4 separate regions of the Homo sapiens genome follow, and all the other regions are linked to region 2. Evidence: promoter capture Hi-C in human tissues and cell types (Jung and others, 2019). All regions are on one chromosome and are shown on one strand. Each heading gives the region's core, a stretch centred on a gene start or on the middle of the fragment in contact. The rest is flanking DNA. Distances are from core to core; before and after follow the strand shown.

Region 1 (6,057 bases), core at 1,731-4,230, 670 kb before region 2:
TAGAGAGAGGCACATTATATTTTAACCCAACACTTTATTATTCCAATTAAATGTTCTTAGTGTTGCCCAAGTGGACTGTGATCTACTTGAGGTCATGGTCTGGGTCTTATCCAATGTCGTACCCAAAAATGTCTACTATATAACAAATATTTGACACATGATAAGAAAAAGGAGTTGGTGATTTAATAAATAAATAAAATGTAAGGATGATTTTACACATTTTATATTTCTTACCATTTTCCCATTTGAAGTACATTTTCCAGAAGTCAAGAAATATCCTTATGTCCACTGAGACAAAAGATTTTAGTAAAGCAGCTCTGTCTAATCATTCAGTCAAACATGAGCCTCAATGCTAAGATCATCATCAATTTTTGGAAAGACTATTTTGGACTATGTGAAATTTTAAGAAGTACCTAACCTGGAGACATAATCAAGTCCAGTGGTTCTCGAACCAGCTGCCTATTGGAGTCATCTGGCAATGAGAGTGGTTACCATCTAACCAACTGGCATATACATTCACTGTAAGCCTACTATGTAGCATGGACTAAGAAATTTACTGTATTGTATAAGTTAACAGAGGAATTTCTCATTGTATAAACTCAGAAGTTCATTGTGTTCTGAGCTCTGAATATAACCTCTCCTCCTTTTTCTTACTTATCACGCATCATTCCACAGACTCATCCTAAAAACTGCAAATCACTCTCTTTGCAAAAGTTGGGGCAAACCCCATCACTATAAAATACTGTATTTTCTATTTTTTTCCTAATTGAGTATATCTCATCTCCTTATGGTAAGCCTATTCATTATGCCTTTTAATAAAGACCAAGAAAGAGAATAATAACTTTTTAAATTGACTTTTTCAATTACCATTTGGCATGCATGTTTTCATGCTGTTGTTTTGAGGATAAAAATGTTGATAGTGGAAATATATTATTGATTCCTGCCTGTTCTTCAGGCTCATGCACTATTGATTAAAGCCCTTCACAGCCTCAACCTTTGCTCCTGCATCCCAAGAGAGCAAATTTGTAGAGCTCCCAAGAACTAAAACTCTGGCTTGGAGATTTTGATATTTGGTGAGCCAGGAAGACTGGAGAAGATTAGAAAGTTCTTATCAGTAAATATGAGAGGCCTCAGTTGGGAGATGGAAGGAGAGCAGATTGAGCTGATGGTAAGGTCTTGGATACTAATGCAGTTAACTCCAGTTCAAAGATTGCCATTTTTTTTTCCTGCATGCATTTCTGTATATGGCTCTGGAGTGGTGGTGTGGATGCACAACTTAGCCCTCTCTGTTGCAAGTGGCAGAAACTCCACTCCAGCCAGCATAGGCAAAGCAATGGGGGCTTTCTTAGCTTAAGTGACTAGGGATAGCAGAGGTAGAGTAATTGGCTTTAGGGACAACTGGATCTGGAAATTTGAAGACACTTATCACTCTTCATTTTCTCCTTTCTTCTGTATTTTGATTTCACTTTCCATTTGAAATACATTTTCCAAAAACAGGTAGGCTTCTCCTAGTGGGCATTCTTCTTTCACAAGACTTTTAGATTCAATCCCTTCCTCTTCTTTCTTGTAATTGTATCCCTCACTCAAATCCCCAGGACCTCATGACTTATTGATTACATGAGCTTTTAAATTGGTGGCTTTGGGCCCAATTTCTTCCCCTTGCAAGATCACGTAGAAAGAACAATGCGAGGCTCAAGTTCTGGCATTGCTCACTAGTAGCTCTGAACTACTAAGAACCATTTAACCTCAGTGAGTTTTAGTTCTCCTCTCTGTCTTTGTCCACTTTATATGGCTCAGATGAGGATCAAATGGGAACACGTGTGTTGTAGACAGTACGTGGTGATGAAAACAAGGTGACTTTCTCACCCCTCCCAACAACTAGCCTGGATATTAGAAAAGAGTCAGCAAACCATGAAATTAATACACAATGGGTCAGGGTTAAGATAGAAAAAACAAATGAGCTCAAGTTCCTAGGCTGAGAGAGACTTAGTTGTAGTTGTTCATAGCTAAAGACAATGTGGTCTATAAAAAGAAGCACTGGTCAGGAAGAAACATGTGAAATAAAGAGTGTCCGAGAGATAATAAATTGTAGCACTGCTAATTCAGGGTAGAGTGTGTCTTTGTTGATGGACTTTGAGTATTAGGGCCCTGTGGGAAGGCTCTTATGGTGTGCAAATGGATGCAGTCAGTCTATCAGAGCCTGATCCCGTTACACATGGGGAATAATCCAATGGACCCATCCATGCTTGTTAATACTCAGTCCTGGTGAGGCTGAGATACAAGGAGTCTCACTTTCATGGGTAGCTGGTATGCAAGCACTGGTACATCTTTTCTGGAGGGACAATTTGCAGTGTGTATCAAGAGACTTGAAATGTTCATGCTTATGACCCAATGATGCCACTGCTGGGAATATGGTCACAAATGGGTGATACAGTTTTATATAGGGAATATTAATCACAGGGTCATTTGTAATAGCAAAAGGTTGACCATAGGGGAATAAGTAAATTTTTTGACCATAGGAGAATGAGTAAATTTTTTGGCCATAGGGGAATGAGTAAATTCATCATGGGGCCATCGTAAGAACAAATAATATTAATTTGGAGGATACAAAATGGCATGAGGAAATACTCATAAGTTACATCATCTAAAGATACCTTGCATAATTTTCGTCTAAAAACCCAAGTAGCCGTAATGTCAAGTGAGTAGGAGTAAGATATAGTACTTTGATATAATGTGATCCAAGATTTAATAGGTGACTTTCACTGTGGGTATTTAAACTGTTTGGTTCTGAAGATGACCCTCACCCAGGGCCAGATGCAGTGTGTTTGTGGACGTGTGTATGTGTAAAAATGGAAGGAAACAATAACTTATAAAAGTGAGTCAGATGTTTCCTGTTTTCTTGCCTTATGATCTCAGGCAGATTATCTAACAATACTGAGTCTCTGCTTTTTGTGTTTTAAATCTAAAATAGGGCTAGTAATACCTTCTCTCCAAGGTATCTAAGAATGGAATGAAATCGTGTATTTTTGAGTAACACAGTCCTTACAGATGTGGGTTCTGGAGTCAGACTATCTGGGTTGAAATTCTACCCCCACCACTTATTAGCCGTGGGATCTTAGAGAGGTGACATCACTTCTCTGTGGTGGATTGCTGCAGTAATGGCCTCAATACATCCAGACTTCTCTCTGCCCACACTCCTGGAAAGTACTTTTCTGCAATGTCTATGGAATGAGTCATGTGACTTGCTTTGCCAATGGGACAATGGCAAATGTGATGCAATGGAGACTGGAGAGGTGCTGTGCACTTGTCCCCTTGCTGCTTTGGGACCCTACTGCCATGTGAAGAAGCTCAGGTGAGCTGGCTGGAGGTGGAGAGAGACAGGTGTCTTGTCCTTGAGCCAACAGCCTATCCACAAGCTGAACACAGTTGCATGAGAGAGCCTGACTGAGATCAGCTGAGCTGGCCCCAGATCAGGAAAAACCCTCAATGGATTCACAGAATCATGAGTTAAATAAATGCTTGATTCTTTAAAATGTTATTTTAATTGACAAAAAGTAATTGTATATATTTATGGGGTATAATGTGATATTTTGATATGTGTATACATTATGGAATACTTAAGCTAATTAACATATCCACCACCTCATACTTATCCATTTTTTTTGTGGTGAGAACATTTTAAATCTACTCTTTTCACAATTTTGAAATATACAATACATTATTATTAACTATAGTCACCATGTTGTGCAATAGATCTTTAAAACGTATTCCTCCTGTCTAACTGAAATTTGTGCCCTTAGAGAGAGGAACAGTGATTGCCAGAGGCTAGGAGGCTGGGGTGGGAAATGGGGAAATGCTTGATTTGTTTTGAGCCACTATAGTCTGGGGGTGTTTGTTACTCGGAATAGATAACTGATACACTGTCTATGCCCCATTTTTTCTCATATAAAAAATGGCACCTACTCTACAAGATCGCTGTTAGAGTTAAATGAGATAGTATGTGCACAGTACCTAGAAGAGGGCTGACACATGGTGCATAAAATATTCTACCATGGCATGAAGCACGTAGTGTTTGGGGTGTTTAGTAGGCACTCAATGAGTGTTAATTATTTCCCTCTTCTCTAGAATGTGCTCATTGATGAATTGAACAGAAGTTCCAGTTAACGAGGAGGTGGAGGTTGCAGTGATCCAAGATCACTCCATTGTACTCATGTCTAAGCAATAAGCGTGAAACTCCGTCTCAAAAAAAAAAAAAAAAAAGTTCAAGTTAAATCACAGACTGATTTTCTACTAAGAGAAATCCATGGGATTTCCACCAACTATGTTTAACTCAATCTGAAAGTGTCCCTCGTCTTCTGGCAAGACCCTTGAATCAAGCTGTTGAAGAGACTCTGGTGTGATCAATGCCCACCCAGCTCTTTCTGATCCCACCCTCAGAGACAGCTGAATGATTTGTGTACAATCACTTTGAACATCTGGGCAGGAGGACTCTGAGATGCACAAGGGGACATGTTTGTCTTTTTCTAAAAGCTAAGTTGTTCTGGGAGGGCATTGACAATGAGCAAGAAAGATATTTTTCAACAACAGAAGATAAGGCAAGATACCTATCTCAAGTTTAGGGGTAGTTGATAGGCAAGATGCACAGTTCTCTTTGTCTGAGCATGTCTTGGTGTAGGCAGAGGGAAAGAATGACCACTGAGAAGACCTGACAGATGCGTAACTACTTGGCTAGCACACAAGGGAAAATTTACAACATCTTCTGTTTATTTGGTGGTTGTAAAATCCCCCGTTTCAGTGATTTAGAGTCATTGTTTTGCCGAGAGGTTCTTTTTTCCAGTCAGGTATGATGAAGTCTCCCAAGGAAAAAAAGATTGTTCATAAACCTGGCCTACAAAGGGCGGTGTGAGGAAGAGGACAAAAGCCACCGTCCTCCCTCATGAAAGATGGTCTCTGATCAAATTCAGCTGGACAGCTGGGAGGGCAAAGAGCCTGGAGGTTAAGAGCATTTTCTTCGAAGTCTGCCAAATCTGCATTGGAGGGCTGGCTCTGCCCTTCACTGGCTTTATGACCTTGGGCGAATTATTTAACAATTCTAAGCCTTAGTCTCCACCTTTGTAGAGTGGGGAAAGCAGTCATTTCAGTCAACCTGGATGTTGTGAAGACGAAATAAGATAAAAAATGAGAAGTGTTTAGCATGGCTCCTAACAAAGAGTTAGTGCTCAATAAATGACATCTAATGCTATTGCTATTATATCAAACAACTATTGCTTGTCTATGGTATACCAGCCCTGTGCTAGACATTGAGGGATGAAAAACAGAAATAAGGTGCAACATTTGTCTTAGGAGGTTGGCAAACTTTCTATAAAGGGTCAGAGAGCAAATATTGTAGGCTTTGTGTACCCAAAGTTTTCTGTTACAACTACTTCACTCTGCCATTGCAGGAGAAAAGCAGCCTTAAACAATAAAGAAATGAGCATGGCTGTATTTCAGTAAAACTTGATTTATAAAAGCAGGTGGTAGGCTAGATTTGTCCTGTTCACTGTAGTTTGTGTCAACCCCTGTCCTAGCGAATTGCACAGTTGGGAGTGTCTCTGGCTATACCTCATGGAAAATCTTACTACATGAAGTCTTGATAGGCAGATACTGGTGTTGGTTCGGTGGACCAAAGATGTCAACCAGCATTTTCATGGTTCTCTCTGTATTTCTTTCATGCTTGTCAACCTAATCACATCCACGTTAAAGGTAAGAAGAAGGAGAGAAGGGGTAGGGCCAATGGAGGAATACTGTTTTGTTAAGAGAGAAAAGACTTTCTTGAGACCTCTTTGTAGATTTCTGCTTGTGCCTCAGTAGCTGAGCTGTGTTATGTGGTCACTCCTAGCTGCAATGGAAGCTGCGGGGGAGAACATTTGTCATCTGTGTCGTTTATAGTGTAAATGAGCAGAAAAGAAGGGGATGAGAATGAGTGCTAGGTCAGATAACCATAGTATCTGTCACACCATTAAGTAATGTTACACTATTGAAAGAGACACACATGGAGAATTACAATACAGAGTGCTA
Region 2 (5,531 bases), core at 235-2,734:
CTTGAGAGCTCAGCTAGTTGGCTGACCCCGCCCCCTACGAGCCCGTCGTGTGCACCACACACTTTGCTCTACGCCCAGCCCCAACTACAGACCCGGCTCCTCTCAGTCAGAGTACACCCCAAGTGCTTGGGAGTGAGGACGCTGCCTGGTGGGCCCAGGCTCCGCTGTGCCTGGGGAACTTGGGGCTCGCCCCACCTCGAGCCAAGGGGCCGTGGAGAGTCCTTCACCCCTACACGCGCGCGTGCACACACACGTGCACACACACACGCACACACACATGTTCACACACACACACCCTCTCTCACGCGCGCCGTGTGCAATGCTGAATTCTGGAGAGTAGGCGCGTCCCCCCGCGGGCCAGCGCGTAGGAGCTGGCAAAGAACGTGCGTAGGGGGAAAGGTAGGCTCCCAAGAAGCTCCCAGACGGACGTGGACTGTACAGCCCCTCCCTAGCCTTTCTACTGCGGGCGCTGTTGCCAAGTCCTAGGTGCACGTGGGCAGTGGGCCGCACACGCTCATAGGCACGCGCGCTTTTCTGCGCACTTCCTCAGACTGCTGTAGCGGTGCCCACGGCCAGCCGGAGTCCTCACATGTCCTCAGGTGGTGCACACGCATGAACTGCGGCAGGTGCACAGCCCTGCGTACCTGCAAATACCAGCACGGTCGTGCACGCGTGCCCTGACGCGCGCCTCTCGGGACGGACGCTGCTGGAGCCGGGGGAAGTTGAGGCGAACTCCAAGAGGCCTCGACGTTCCTGGGTAAGCGCCGCGGAGCGCGGAGCCGCAGCGCCCCCTGGTGCCCCTCCTGCACTTCGCCGCTGGGCTCCCTCCCGCTTTCCCTCTCCCTCTCTAGCCTGATCCCTCTCCCGCTCTCCCTCCGGTCGAGTCTCCCTCCTCCCCGGCCCAAGGAGCCCTGATCTCCCTCTGGGACGTACCTGTAGCCCGAGAAGGTCGAGGATGCAGTGGGGCGCGCTGCGCGCACGAGCATCTCGGCCGCCTCAGCAGCCACCGGGTTTAGCGGGTTCCCGCATGCTGCGGCCCCAGCGCGCTCCCCTGGCTGTCCCGCGCTGTCCGCATCGCCCCCACGGGGGGCGGCTATCCCAGCCGGAGGCTCTGCAGCAGGGCTCTAACGGGGCGGAGGAGAGAAGGAGAGGCAGGGTCAGCCCACCAACGAGGGGAGGGAGGGTTGAGGGGAAGGCTGCAGTCTGCAGTGCTCACAAGCCCCCCTATGCGCCCAGGGGGGCTAGACAAGAGGGGGGAAGCTGAAGCCCGATGCCCACGACGCCCCCAGTGCGGATCCTCAGCCCCTGTGGCTGATAGCGGGAGCTCCACTCCAGGGTGCACAGGAGAATGGGAGCCCCAGGTTGGCCACCCACGAGAAGCTAACTGGGCACCTCCACCCGCACCCCCTACCACCTCCCCAGCGCCGGCTGCTGGGAGTTGTGCGACCGGGAGCTGCTGAGCGAGGGAGGTAGGGAGAGAAAGAGGAGGTAACGAGGGTGGGGGGGCGCTGGCTGAGTTTGTGACGAGCCAGCAGTAGGAGAGGGGGAGGGAAGGACGCGGGCTCCCGCGGTCCCGGTTCCCCGAGGGAGGTGGATCTTTCCCACGCAGCGACCCTCTTGTGATCCTGCCGCTTCCTCCCTCTTCAGGCCTCCCACCTCCCCCCTTCCCAAGGGGGCCTCCCAGGCCCGGCGTCCCGCGCTAGCACTCACCGCAGCCTCTCTCCACATAGTTCTCAGCAGTGGCCGCTCCTGGTCATCTCCAGGGCTGATGGCTGCGGCCGCGATTCTCAGCGCTCACCCGGTCCCATGATCCGGCCAAGCCCTAGGAGCTCCCCTCCAAGATCCCTAGCTCCGCTTCCTGCCCCACTCCGGACGGCAACTGCCCGGTCCTCTGAGCGCGCCGGAGCACCCTCTCCGCAACCCAGCTCCGGGCTGGTGTGTTTGAGGGCGAGTGTGTGTGTGAGTGTGGGAGCGCGCTCGCGTGTGGCCGGGGATCCCCGCGGTCCCCGGCCGAGAGAGGCGCGGGCGGGGAAAGGCAGCTCCCTCCGGGCCCTTCGCTGCTGGGCCAGCTCCGCGCCGGGCGTTCGGCTCCCCACTTCCCAGCGGGAGTCCGGTGAGCGCCTGGACACCCTGGTTCACAGCACTGGCAAAGCCGGGTTCCCGGGGCGTCTTTCTGCTGCGGTCGCCTCCGAGGAAGAGGAGAAGGAAGGTAGCGGCGCCCTCCACACCAACTTAGGGACTTGTTCTCAGCCGGCGAGACGCAGTAGCCCCCGCTCAAGCCCAAGAGGCTTCGAGCTCCGGCGGGCGAAAGCGTCTCCTGCCCGCAGCCTCTCTCCTAGGTGGGTCGAGACAGACCCCGCAGTCCCTCGGCGGCGACGCGGAGCGCGGCCACCCGTTCCGAGAGCGCACGGCGGCAAATAAGGCCAGGATAGGTGGCTGGCTGGCGACGGGGGCGCCTGCGGCGGCGCGCGCTGCTGTCCGTGGTGTTGGAACCACGCTCTCCGCCCGCTCCCGGGCGTCTGGTGCGGCTGAAGAATCAATTATTCAGATCTCTGCTACCGCTTCCTCCTCCCCCAGTGCCTCGCGCTGGGTACAGTTATCCCCCTCCACGCACAGGCGCGCCGACACACACACACACACACACACACACACACACACACACACAGAGTCTGCTCCAATGCTTCTCCCTGTGCCTCGCCACCCCCGTACGGGAACCCACTCCTCTGATCTCAGGGAGCCAGAATCCTAAAAGCAAAGACATCTGCATTTCCCACATGCTTCCTTCTAAGTTCTACCAAACAGAAGCCTCCCTGAGGCTGCCACTTCTAAGCTACCAGAAGAGGTGAGCCAGAGAACATGGGACGGCCCGGGTGTGTGAGGGCTTGGTTGACTTGAATTCTAGCGACTGGGCATGAAATACATGGTCAAGGGAGGAGCTCTGCCCCTTTTATATTCACCTGTATCTCCAACGCCTGTCTGCCTTTCAGGCCTTGGAAGGAAAGGGGTCTTAAATTCTAAGAGGTTTTGCAATGACTGTTCCAACCCTGCCTCCTCCACTTAACCTAATGTCACCTGCTGCGGTCTAAATGTGTGTGTTCCCACCCCCAAATTCATAGGATAAAATCCTAACTCCCAAGGTGATGGTATTAGGAGGTGGGGACTTTAGGAGGTGACTTCATGGCTTCATGAGAGTAAAATGGGATTTGTGGTCTTATAAAAGAGATGCCAGAGAGTCAGCTAGGTCCTTCCACCAAGTGAGACTTAATCAAGAAGGCATCGGCCTATGAACAGGAACTAGGCCCTCCCCAAATACTGAGTCTGCTGCTGCTTCATCTTGGACCTCCCAGCCTCAAGAAGTGAGAGAAATAAACTTCTGCTGTTGATGATGTTTTGCTATGGCACCTGGATCAAACTAAAATATCACTTTTGGACATTATATTACTTCCCTTTATTGATCACTAATCTGGAAATGGGGGGCAGTAAAAACATCTACTTCTCAGGATTATTTTGAAAAGAAAAGGAAGTAGCCTTAATAAAGGGGTCAACAAGGTCTGGCACATAGTAGATGCTCAATCAACATCATGCACCTTGAAGTAGCCTGGAAGCAGGGGAACTTCTTCCAAGAATGTGGATGTGGCTGCTGAAATGGAGACAGGAGAGGGGCACAGTGTGTGGAGACAAATGGATTCATTATTGAGCTGGTTGTTCTATGCTGGGTTTCCTGGGTTTTTGTTTTTGTTTTTTTTTTAATCCAAAAGACAGAGAAAGCGTGAGGGAAATGCTGGAAAGTAAATTAAAATGGGGGATTGTATAATATAAGGCAGGGAACAGGAAAATGTTTCCTTTCTTGAGTCTATGGCTGGGCTGAACTGATTAGGCCACTCCTTGGCACCCATGCAAGACTCTGGCTTGGGGTCTAAAGGGGAAGTTAGGCCATTTTATTTAAATGAGTTATAAATTATAGACAATAAAATGCATATCTCTCAAGGGTTTCATTTGTGAAGGTTTTTTGGTGTTTTTTTATTTTTTTGTTTGTTTGTTTTGTTTTGTTTTGTTTTTTTGACAGGGTCTCACTCTTGCCCTGGCTGGAGTGCAGTGGTGTGGTCGTAGCTCACTATTAACTTGAACTCCTAGGCTCAAGTGATCCTTCTGCCTCAGCTTCCCAAGTAGTTAGGACTTGTGGTGGTTAGCACATGCCACCACATCTGGCAAATTTTTTATTTTTTGTAGCCATTGGGTGTTGCTATGTTGTCCATGCTGGTCTCAAACTCTTGTCTTTACGAAATCCTCTGGCCTTGGCCTCCCAAAGGCTGAAATTACAGGTGTGAGCCACTGCACCCAGCCAGTTTGTTACTTTTGAGATTGTGTGTATCCACATAGACCGTCACGTAAAATGAGGTACAGAGTATTTTCATCACCACCAGGAAGTTTTCTTGTGTCCCTTTGTTGTCAATCCCACTCCCCCCATTCAGTGTAAACTACAATTTTGATTTCTAATACCATGTATTAGTTTTGCCCTTTTCTGAACTTCATATAAGTGGAATTTTACACTATGTATTCTTTGGTGACTGGCTTTTTTCACTTACCCTGATGTCTAGAAGATTCCTCTGTGTTGTTGCATGTATCAACAGCTTTTTTATTTTTTATTGTTGAGCAGCTAGCTCTCTATTGCATGGATAAGCCACACTTTGTGTATCCAGTCTCCTGCAATGGATATGTGGGTTTTATCTATGGGACTTTTTAAAATACAGATGTGGCTGGGTGCAGTGGCTCACGCCTGTACTCCCAGAACTTTGGGAGGCTAAGGCAGGAGGATCACTTGAGCCCAGGAGTTTGAAACCAGCCTGGGCAACATGATGAGAGCCCAGGAATTTGAAACCAGCCGGGGCAACATGATGACAACCCAAGTGTTCACACTGCTGCACTCCAGCCTGAGTGACAGAGTGAGACTTTGTCCCAAAAAAAATAAATAAAGAAAATAAAACACAGATGCCTATGCCCACTCTAGATCTACTCCATCAGGATCTCCAGGTGTGGGGCCAAGCACGGACAGTTATTTTAGATCCATAGGGGATTCTGATGATGCCTCTGCACTTGCTATTCTCATAAATTGATGCTGACCCTGAAATTGGATTTGTCTTTCTTGAAAAATACTGGTATTCAGGGTTTTAAGTTATTCATGATCAGACTTATAGAAAGATAAATCAAACTGATACGGCCTCTTTTGAATAGAGAAAGAAGGCAGCCCTTCATTGGAAGGGACACTGTGCCTCTAAACATAGGCACAGGAGGCTGGAGTTGCACTGGGGTGGACATGTCACCAGGGTGGAGCACATCGTGTGTCAGGCACCTGGAACTTCACCATACATGCAGAGACTGTGACAGCGTGTATAAGATCATGACAGCCTTACTCCATCTATGCTGCCAAGCTTAATTCTCAATGCAGCTTAGGATGCTAAGCAGAATTTTGCTGCTCAAAGAGTTTCAGATGATAAGAAAAACTTCTTCATAGCAGCTATATCAACTGTGAT
Region 3 (5,591 bases), core at 1,135-3,634, 710 kb before region 2:
GTCAATAAATATTTGTTGATTTGGTTCAGTTTTCAGTCTTATTTAAACAACCTGCTTTGTGGGTCTTTTCAGAAATGATCACAGAAACAGAATCTCTCAACTTAAAAGCCAGAAGCGAGCATCAGGGTCAACTTGTCCTGCTCTCTGAGGTCACATAGACAGAGACTGTGATGTCAGAACCTACCTTCTGTGACAAAAGTTTTTTTTTAAAAAACACATAGAGGCATCTGGTTTAAAGCAATTTCTTCTGCATTCTTACCTTTACTGTCTTCGTCTCTCAGGTGGGGGAAAAGGGATATAGAAGCATATAGTCTAAGCTGGGAGTTAAAAACACTAGGTTAAAATCCTAGCTTTGCTACTGAATAGCTGTGTGACCTTAGGCAATTTACTTAACCTCTCTGAGTCTCTGTAAAATGGAGGGAAAAAATGCTTCTCTGGAAGAGTGGTTAAATACTTGAAAGAGGCAATGTAACTGTCTTATGCCTAGAGCATAGTAGGTGCTTAACAAACAGTAGCTTATTTCTGGCATTATAATTAGATGAGGGGAAGGTCCCTCCTAGCACAGACCCTGGAAGATTCTATGACTCAGGGAGTGGGCAGATTGCATCCATGGTCCCTGCCCTCATTTGTAGCTACCTGAAGGGCCTGTCTCAGCAATAAAAACAGCCAAGTGAGCACAGGCAGAGAAACATCATTTCCTCCTCCTCTTGAGGGCAGGAGTCCAGGCGCAGCCCCAGCAGCAGGTAATGCCCTAAAGCCAGGTAAGGATGCTCCCTCCTCACTAACCTTCATAACCACATCAGCAAGCTGGGAAGTTTTAATAAGCTCAGCTGGATCAAATCGCTCTGCTCCTGAGTCAGCTGTCCCAGGCCTGGGGGGGTGGTGTTGGTGGCCTGGTTAGAACTTTCCTCTGGCTTCAGGGAAGTGAGCCCTTTTAGCAGTGTCTTTTGCTCAGGACAAGGCCATATGGCTACAACCATGAGAGGCATGACAGCTACGACTTACTGAGTTTTTACTTTGTGCATTTCCACCTCCAGCAGCCGCACTCGTTACTTTAGTAAGCATTGTAGATCCAATTCGTCCATGGCTAGTCTGGGATGAGCCAAGTTATGTTATTCTCTCACTTTAAAATCCTCTAAAAACCATCCTTTACACTTGGAATAAAACACAACGTTTTTACCATCTCCTAAAATTCCTACATGATCTGACCCTGCTTTCAGCTGATTTTCTCTCCCTTTTTCCTGCTTTCTGTGTTTCAGCAACACTGTCCTTCTCTTTCTTGAGCACATACATCCTTTCCTGCCCTAGGACCTCTGCACTTGCTGTTCCGCTGATGCTTCCTGACCCTTCCTGGGATATTCTTTTATGTGATTTTTGTATGTCTGTCCTGGTCTCATCCTTCAGGTCTTGTTCAAGTGTTAATTGCTTCAGAAGATCTCCCTTCAGCATTAAAGCCACTGGTTTATTTGACAGATACTGTCTTATTAGTGCCATTATTATTTTCATTTTTATAAATGACAAAATTGAGGCTTGGAAAAGTGAAATAACCTGCCTAAGGACCCACAGCTAGTAAGTAGTACAGTTGCAATGGAATAGAAAGGCAAGTAACTGTGCTGTTGTTTTCTATGAGGCTTGCTTACTTATCAGGGGAATCTTCTTTTGGGAAGTCATTTTAGGTTCAGATTGATTCATGTTGCGTCTCTTTCTCTGACGCATACTCAGACCGTGTTTGATTACTGGTGTAAGCAAACTTCCCTGATCAGAATGCTAGCCTTCCTCTTTTCCTGTGGGCCAGCACCTTTATCATTTATCTTATTACAAACCCAATTGGAAACAGCTCATGCTGAGGAGAGACCAAAATTGCCAACACTAAACTTTTCTACTTTCCAAAGCAGTTTGTGAAATAAAAGGGGTAACAATTTTTCCCCCTCAGGCCAATTCAGTATAGTGATAAGAATAGGTCTCAACACCAGGCACAAACAATATTTCCCTGTCGGTGTGGGATCTACCCTTGTAGGACCCCCATTCATCTACACCCTCACCCAAGCCCAAGCACTTCTTATCCACTTCTTTCCCCTTCCTGCTGCTGAGATATGTCCCTGGTTGAGACCATCAATGCCAGATGTTGATGGACAAAATAGCCATGAAATGTTTTTTCTCTTTTCACTGAATTCCCTGGGGACTCCTGGACTTTTTCCATGGGAGGCCAGAGAAAGAGCATTGGATTGGAATCAGATAAAACCGGGTTCAAAGCTCAGAGCTCCTACTCATCAGGTAAAGGACTTTGGGTAAAGTAATTATCCCTTTCTGAGCCTCAGCTTTCTCATCTGTAAATTACTGGCCTTACTGAGTAGTTAAGAAAATTAAAAGAGATAATACATCTCAGATTGCTTGGTATACATCGTACTGAGTGGGAGGGTAGAATGATCGTCAAAGGTGCAAGGTTCCATTTTTACTAGTTAAGCTGGTTTACCATGGGGAAGGTACTTATTTTCTTAGCACGTTGGTTAAGCTCATCTAAAATATCAGGATAGTTACAGAACATTTGTCATTAGGCTTTTGTATAAATTACGTAAGTTAGTTCATGGAGAGTTCTCTTTAGCCATGGCTGGAATGTAGTTAGTGTTCAACCAATACTATTATTACAATTGATATCAACTTTCTTCAAAAATGTCAGCAAATGGGAATTTTTGGTTATTGTGCACTCTCTCAATCTTTCTAGGATTTTAAGCTCTGTCCACATTACTGGAATGGAAGGAGATATGAGTAATGGAGACTCATTCCTCTTCACCAACCCCTGGACCACTTCTCTTAGGAGCTCTTTTCTGTTAGGATGAGTATAGGCCCTAAAGTGGCCTACCCCACAGACCCTCTGGACATGCCCTGACATAATCAGATACCAGAAGAAGCACAGTGGGGGCTTTTGACCCACAATGCTACTGCTCAAAGCAACTTGGAATGAGAGGAAGTGGGTTCTTTATGAAGAGGACCGTCCTTCCCCCAAATCAAAATGCCAGAAATCATACCACTTCCAGCCTTGACAAAGCAGCTGGCTTTGGGTTAGCCTCCCTGCTTTAAAAAAGTATAAAACTAAACAAAATTTATGCTTCTAGTCACTGGGTAGTAAGCAGCCCAAGACTGTGATCCTGGAGTGTGGGAAACTCATGAAGTAAGACCCACATCAGTGTGGTATTGGCTGGGACAATCTTTGGATCACGGTGCAGAGAGTTGGAGCCTGGGTAGGAAGTAGCAGTGCTACTGATCTGATGAGGCAGAGATCAGAGATCAGGACTGCTGAAGTGGCTGGAAGCTATAAGGCAGGGCACTGGAAAGGAGGGAGCTGAACAGAGAAATCTCAGTAAGTCTCTGTAGGGATTCTAAAGGATTCCTTGGCTGAGGGATGCACATGTGCAGAGCAAAATTATGCAAGACTTACCAGTGAGTCACTGTCATGGGCTGACAGAAGATAATACTGCAGGTTAATGAGTACTAGGAGATGTGAGAGTTGTGGTCTACCCACAGTTGAGAAACCTTGTTAACATGTTGGTCATCCAGATGAGAAACCAGGAAAAATACTCCTATGATGTGGGAATATATTATAGAGCAAGGTCTTCTCTGGATCTTCTCTAACAAAGCTTAAAATCTAGCCTGGCAAAATCTGCAGAGACATCAACATTTGGAGTTTGAGGGGCTTAGGAAAAACCTTGGGGATTCTATAGATCTACTTTAACAAAGCATAATGCCAAGACTACACATGTTAAAGGTGATTCCTCAGTAACTGATCCTCCTTAGAGAATAAAAATCAACATTCTTTAGAGTGAAAGAACCCAGAGTCTCTATAATGTTCCTTTATTGATGTCCAGTATACACTAAAAAATCACTAGACATGCAAAGAGTCAGGAAAATGTTAACCATTCATTGTCAAGAACAAAAGTGAGTTTATAGAAATCAATACCAAGATGATGGATATTATGAAAAAGAATATAAAGCATCAACTTATTGGTTGATTTTTAAATTTATTTAAAATAAATTTTATTGTGTATATTTAACGTATACAATATAATGCTATGGGTAACATACAGATAATAAAATGGCTGTTATAGTGAAACAAATTAACATATCCATCATCTCACAAATTATCTTTTTTTTGTTTTTTGTTGCAAAAACAACTAAAATCTACTTATTTAGCAGAAATTCCAAATACAGTACAATTTTATTACCTATAGTCTTCATGTTGTACATTAGACCTTCAGACTTCTTAGTCCTATATATGTACTATCTCATATCAGCTGACTTACATTTCCTTATTTCTTCACTACTCCTTTTTCTTGTCCCTGGTAATCAATATTTTAATCTCTACCTCTATATATTTGACTTTAGAAAAAATAATTTTATAATATTTTTCTTTCTGTGCCTGGTTTATTTCACTTAGCATAATGTTCTTCAGGTTTATCCATGTTGTGCAAATGGCAGGCTCTCCTTGTTTTTAAAGCTAACTAGTATTTCATCATGAAATAAGTTTCTTTATCCATTTGTCCACTGATGGACATTTAGTTGTTTCATACTTGGCTATTATGAATATAAAGCATCTAATTAGATATATTCAAGAACTTAAAGGGAAATATGGCCCTTCTGGGTAAACAGATAAGGAATATCAACAAAAAATGGAAATTACATAAAAAACATGAAAATTATGAATTGAAAAGTATTGTAATTTAAATTAAAAATTCACTAAATGGATTTGATAACAGATTGGAAACCCATTTGTGATGAAAAACTCTTAGGAAATTGAAACAGAAGGGAACATCTTCTATTTGATAAGCAGCATCTATAAAAGCTGTACAGTTAACATACTGTTTAGTGAATGCTTTTGCCCCCACCCTCCACAATATTAGAAACAAGGCAAGAATATCTTACCACTATTAAATTTTTTGCTAGATGGGGGAACTAGTTAGTGCAACAAGGCATCAAAAGTAAGAACAAAGGTATGGAAATTTGAAAGGCATAGTAAAATTTTTCTCTATTTTCAGATGACATGATTGTCTACATAGAAAATTCTACATAAAATTCTAGACATAATAAATGAAATTAGCAAAGTCAAAAAATTCAAGGTCAATATAAAAATCACTTGTGTTTAAATTTGTTGATCATAAGGAACTAAAAAATGAAATTTAAATATCATTTAGAAGAAGATCAAAAATAAAATATTTAGGAATGAATTTAATGAAAGATATGCAAAACTTTAATAGTAAAACCAATTAACATTGCTAAGAGCAATTGAAAAGGAAAAAGAGGGGAGATTGAGAGAGATACCATGTTCTTGGATTGGCATATTCAATATGATTGTGGTAGGTAGACCTCTAATATGGCTTCCAATGATCAGCATCTCCTGGTATTCACGTCTTACGTAATCCTCTCCCTTTAGTATGTGCTGAGTCTAGTGACTTGCCTCTAATGAATAGAATATGGCAAAGATGATAGAATGATTCTTCTGAGATTAGGTTCTAGAAGACTGACTACTGTCTTCTTCTAACTCTCTCTTGCTTACTTTGATGAGGCCAGCTGCCATGGTGTAAGCTTCCTTATGGAAG
Region 4 (5,271 bases), core at 1,998-4,497, 690 kb before region 2:
TACAAACTTACATGGAGAAAGTTGAGATTACAAAATTCTGGGTATTGCCAATGGGACTGAAGAAATTCCTACTAGTGACACCAAAAGGGTTGAAACAAGGTTGCCCAAAGTTATTTCCAATGCAGGTATCCAGATTTCACTGAATGTCTCAGACCACAGTGGGTCCAAGAGTTGGAAGTCTATATCTAAAATCAGAAATGCAGTGGGCATTATAATTTTAAAAAGGTAGACATGGAGAAATGCAGCCCCTCCCTGAAAATGCACAGTGAAAGAAATTGAAAATGAAATGAAATTGAAGTGAAATGACAATCATGGAAAACCAGGATTTTCGAAGTGAGGACTAATGAATAAGAAATAGCAAATGGAAATGAGTTGTATAGTAGCTATAATTACTGATTTATTATGTGCTGACAGTCCCTGATACTCTTTCATTCTATCTCTCGATGCTGTCTTTATTGTTGTGTTTAGGTGAGTGTAAACATGTATAGTAGCTGGATGAGATTCCCTTCTCTATTATTGGCAGACTGGCAGTCTTTAGTAAGACAGAATAAAGAGACTGAGGTTTCATTAGTAGAACAGTGACAACTACATTACACTCAGAGAAAAAGTCAGTATTAACAGGAAAAGGGTGTGTTCTGAAAAATACTATTGTGCAAATTACATTTTTTTTTCTAAAAAGTAAGGGTTGGTTGGCTATAGATCAATGGCCTCTAAACTTTTTTGGTTGTGCACTGAATTAGAATTTTTCGAACATTTCCACGCAATATATATGTTTACTTATTTTTAAGTTGTCAACACATACTATTGTGTTTGTATATTGTGTATCTTATAAAACACATATTAAAATAGACATTAAAAAGATAATGATAACAGATATTTTCTTTATGCACCCCAGTAAATTGTTCTGCCCAACCTCAGCCACTAGTATGAATGCTCACCTCTCAGGAAAAGCAGTTAACATGTGTTGCACCTACTGTGTACAGGCACTGTCCTCACACTTTATGCATGTTAGCTCATTTAACCCTCCTAACAGCCCCAGTAGGGAGAAACAATTGCAATTCCCACTTCACAGATAAACGAATGGAGGCATAGAGAGGTTAAGTAACTTTCCCAGTAACAGATCCAGCTGATCGGTGGGAGATCAGGAATTCAAAACTAATGAGACTGGCTCCAGAATGCCTGTCTTAACCACTGCACTCTGCCATCTCTCACCCGAGGAAAGTGAAGAGCTTGATGCTTTTTCCTACAAAAGAGGAAGGAATCAGAGGTGATGTTCAGGAGCCAAGGGCTGTAAGGAGTTTCTTCATTGATAGAGCCAGACCCTGGCAGAGAAATAGAAAATACCAAGGGTATGAGGGTAAGGAGAGGAGAAAGAGGCAAGAGGCTGGAGAAAGGAAAGACTCCCAGGGACGACTCCCAGGGACGACTCCCAGAGGTGGACCCTGATTAGGTTGAAATGCATTTTGAAGGGAATTATTTGCACTACCTGCTGCACTTCATGAGTGGTCAAGATTCAGTGTTAGGTTTTCTTTCTGGTAATAATTGGACCCATCTTTTGGATGCCAGGCAAGCTGGAGGCGTTACTATGATAAAGCCCTTCATGAGTTTGCTCCTAACCTTGATTCCCTGAGCTTTTTCCCATTTTTCTCCCAAAGTTTAGTGTCCTCTACCACATGCTTACTACAGTGGAGAGCTCCAGAAGCTAAACTTTCAATATAGAGGTGGGAACACTCTTATTTTTTATATGAACTCATACTTTCTGTACAAGCCTTTGCAGATCCTTTCAGCATCTGAGCAATCATATAGCTAGAATTATAGCAGATGAAATCTTAGGGACCCCATGGTCCAACCTATTCCTCCTAGATTAGGACTAGAGAGGGCAAGAGCCTTGGCTGAGGTGTCCTGTGCTGCATGCATTAGTCCTATATCGCTGGTATGCTGGCTAGATCTTTGCATGCTGGCAGGTCAGATTTGAAAAATATTTTTTAGCTTGAGGATTTACAAGGGTGAACTCAGCTCAGTGCCAGTCGGAAGGCAAATTTTTGTTTTCTCTTAAACTATTGAGAAGTATGATTATACTTAAGGTCCCTGCTATGGGCTGGGTTTTGTCCCCGCAAAGTTCATATGTTGAAGCCCTAACCCACAGCACTACAGAATGTAACTTTTTGGAGATAGGGTCTTTAAAGAGACGATTAAGTTAATATCATGGCTGTTGGGGTGGGTTCTAATCCAATGTGACTAGCATCCTTATGAGAAGAGGAAATCTGGACATAGAGATACACCAGGGGTGTGTGTGCACGGAGGAAAGATCATGTGAGGATACAGCAAGAAGATGGCCATCCAGAAGCCAAGGAGAGAGACCTCCTAATGAAACCAATGCTGCGGACACCTTCATCTTGGACTTCCAGCCTCCAAAACTGTTGGAAAATAATTTTCAGTTGTTTAAGCCACCCACTCTGAGGTATTTTGTTATGGCGGCCCTAGCAAACTAATATGGTCCTCTTTACTCCTTATAGTAATGATACTAGTAGCTAATATTTATCTTCAAATGCATTTATCACTTAATCTCCATAAATTGTGTGACGTCAATGAAAGAATTAGCTTCATTTTACACATGAAAAAACTGAGACTAATAGAAGTTAGGATAGAGCTGGGCCTGTTGATGTTCCAAAGCCATGCTCTTACTATGGGGGTTGTTAGAGTAATAATGGGGTCACAGTAGTCAGGAATTCTCAGACAGGGGGATGATGCCACTGTGTCACTTCCTGTTTCACAGGAAGTAGGACAGAGCAATGGAGGGAAGCCAGATTTAATGTCAGAAGTCTGGACCATCAATTTTATCCCTTCCCATTGCCTCCTTTTAAATTTTAGTCAATTCAATAAATATTTTCAACTCCTCGTCTGTACCAGGCACCAAGCCACAGAATGGAGTTCTGGCAATGAACACTGCAGACATGGCCGCCTTTAGCCTCATGGAGCTTAGGGTCTGGGAGCATTGTCAGTTTCTGAATCCTCCAAGTGCTAAACTATCTTCTCTCTTCAAATTAGAGAAAAGAAATGAGACAGCAGGCCTGCTTCTTTGAGTGTTTTTTTCTTTTTTGTTTCCGTTTTCTGACAACCATACTTCACGTCTGACAGAGGAAATGATTCTTTTTGTCAGTGATAAATTTATGAGTTTTGACTGTTTGTGAAGTTCCCTAATTAATTCTTTATAGACTTCTATTGGCAACTGAATTTGTGTTTTGAGTTAAAAATGGGAGTTCAGATGAATTACAGTTGAACATTCTGCTCCCTTTGAAGAGCTCATACTCCACATTCTACGCTGTTAATCTCTCTGCTTACTGAGAGGCACCGTTTGTCTTGCAGTGACGCACGGTGGGTGGTTACCATGGCATAGGAAAACATTGCCAGCGCTGGCCCTGTCGTCATGGAACCCCTGGGCCATCTCCTGAGAAACTTGGTAAGGGCTCCCAAGCCGCCCATACCTCCTTGGCACCACAAGTGTAGCTTTTTATTTTGTGTGTGGGCAGCTTGACATCTGCACCTGACCAAGAGATTGATGTGGCTAAACAAATTTAGGAAATGAGCAGCAGTGGATCTCTGTTCAGAGAGGGAGGAGGAGAGAGAAGGAGGGAGGGAAGAAAGGAGAGAGGGAGAGAGCCAGAAAACAGAGCAAGATAAAGGAAGAGAATGCACCTGAAATAGACACAAGGATAAATGGATCAAGGAGAGAGGAGAAACAGATAATCACAACAGCGAATATTTGTTAAATGCATGCTCTTTGCCAGGTATGATGGTCGGGGCTCTGGCCGCATTATTGTATTTCTTCTTCATGATGACCCTGTGCAGTAGAAACTTTGTTATTTTCCTTACTTTCAAAGTGTAAAAACAAGCTCAGAGAGACTAAATAAATTACCCAAGTTCACACAGTTCTTCAAGTATGGAGCCAGTCTGCAAATTCAGGCAGATGAATTTAGAGGATACACTTTAAATGACTATGGTTGGGAGTCAGAGTGGGTAAGAGAATTATAAAGAAAGAGGTTGAGAGAATTGACACGCACATACACAGAGAGAGAAAGGGAGAGAGAGAGAGAGAGAGAGTGATTTACAGAAAGAGACAGTGTGAGACATGGGAGAGTGAGAAAAATACAAAGAATTTAAAGAAGTGTGTAGAAAGAGTCTGAGATAGTTGACATGCACACAGAGAAAAACAGAGAGGCAGAAACAGACAGACGGAGAGAGAAGACTTTTGCAAAAACAACAGAAAAACAACCCTTCCTTTATGTAAGACTAAAATATCTGAGAAAATAACAGCATGGATTCTGTGATTTTCATGGCAAGGCATTTTTGTTTTACTTAGTTTACATTATCATTCACACTGTGGAAACGCTGAAATGGAAGAAATAATTTGCAGTGGGATACAGCCAGTCTTTGGAGACACAGGTCTCTGAATTCAGAGCTCTGACTCCAGAGCATGTGTGTTTTTCCCGGAGTGTGGTGACGGCAGCATGAAAATTTTCAGGGGTGCGTGATAGGTGAAGGAAGGAAGCAGAAATGGAAGGGCTGAGATCATCTGAGTTTCTTTTACCCTCACAGAGGCCAACCTGAGTTGCACATTTTTCTTGGTCCTTCCTAGTGACATTTTTCAAGGTCCTTCCCTTGGTGATGAGCTCAGGGGAGCATTGACTGCCTGGGAGCCAAGGCTGTTAGCTATATTACACATGGCATCCCATTAACTCCTTACAACAGGCTATGTTTGAGGGATATAATCCTTATTATGTACATAAAGGAAAAGGGCACAGAGAGATTAACTATTTCAAGTTCACACAGCTTGCAGGTGGTAAAACTAGAACTAGAATCCTAGCAACCTATATCAAGAGCCCTTGACCCTAGGCTCACATTGAAGGCAAAATGCTCAGAGTACACAGACCCTGGAGGAGCAGCAGTTTTTCTAGGTATCCTTTACGGCGATCCTTATTTGCAAGGAGACTGTGGAGGGCATGTGCATCTATCATATGAGTAGGTCAAACCTCCATGAGTTTTAGTAAGGAAAACAAGTCTAAATTAGCTTGGACACAAACGCTAGGGGACTTCTAATTCCTTACTACGTGCAACCAGGCAAGGATGATGCCATCAAGAGTTTTATCCACCATCATCTTTGGTGCCAAATGCAACAGATTAGGCATTGCCAAACAGTTTCTGGTTCAGTCCTGCTACACTGAATCTGTAATGCTAGGGCTCAGAGAAGGGCAAGAATCCATCCTCTGTGTG

Evidence for each region. The method cuts DNA at HindIII sites, captures the fragments that hold promoters and counts their contacts. A contact is called where the count stands out against the background at its distance.
Region 1: a contact is called between a fragment that was not itself captured here and the fragment with the promoter of GRIN2A in region 2, in 1 of the 25 tissues and cell types used here (lymphoblastoid cells).
Region 3: a contact is called between a fragment that was not itself captured here and the fragment with the promoter of GRIN2A in region 2, in 1 of the 25 tissues and cell types used here (dorsolateral prefrontal cortex).
Region 4: a contact is called between a fragment that was not itself captured here and the fragment with the promoter of GRIN2A in region 2, in 1 of the 25 tissues and cell types used here (dorsolateral prefrontal cortex).

Annotation. Positions count from the first base shown.
Region 1 is chr16:9,506,690-9,512,746 of GRCh38, forward strand. The region is part of intron 3 of LOC101927026 (a long non-coding RNA gene); the gene reads left to right. Among named protein-coding and RNA genes, the nearest start is that of LINC01195, 54 kb to the left of the region's middle. The HindIII fragment of the contact is 8,339 bases long and covers 1-6,057 here.
Region 2 is chr16:10,180,944-10,186,474 of GRCh38, forward strand. GRIN2A (glutamate ionotropic receptor NMDA type subunit 2A) reads right to left here and starts at 1,485. Exons shown (of 13, transcript NM_001134407.3): 1 at 934-1,485. RefSeq lists silencers at 573-682, 693-752. The HindIII fragment of the contact is 17,773 bases long and covers 1-5,531 here.
Region 3 is chr16:9,466,268-9,471,858 of GRCh38, forward strand. LOC101927026 (a long non-coding RNA gene) reads left to right here and starts at 264. Exons shown (of 6, transcript NR_188390.1): 1 at 264-743. The HindIII fragment of the contact is 4,444 bases long and covers 163-4,606 here.
Region 4 is chr16:9,486,638-9,491,908 of GRCh38, forward strand. The region is part of intron 1 of LOC101927026 (a long non-coding RNA gene); the gene reads left to right. Among named protein-coding and RNA genes, the nearest start is that of LINC01195, 34 kb to the left of the region's middle. The HindIII fragment of the contact is 8,627 bases long and covers 1-5,271 here.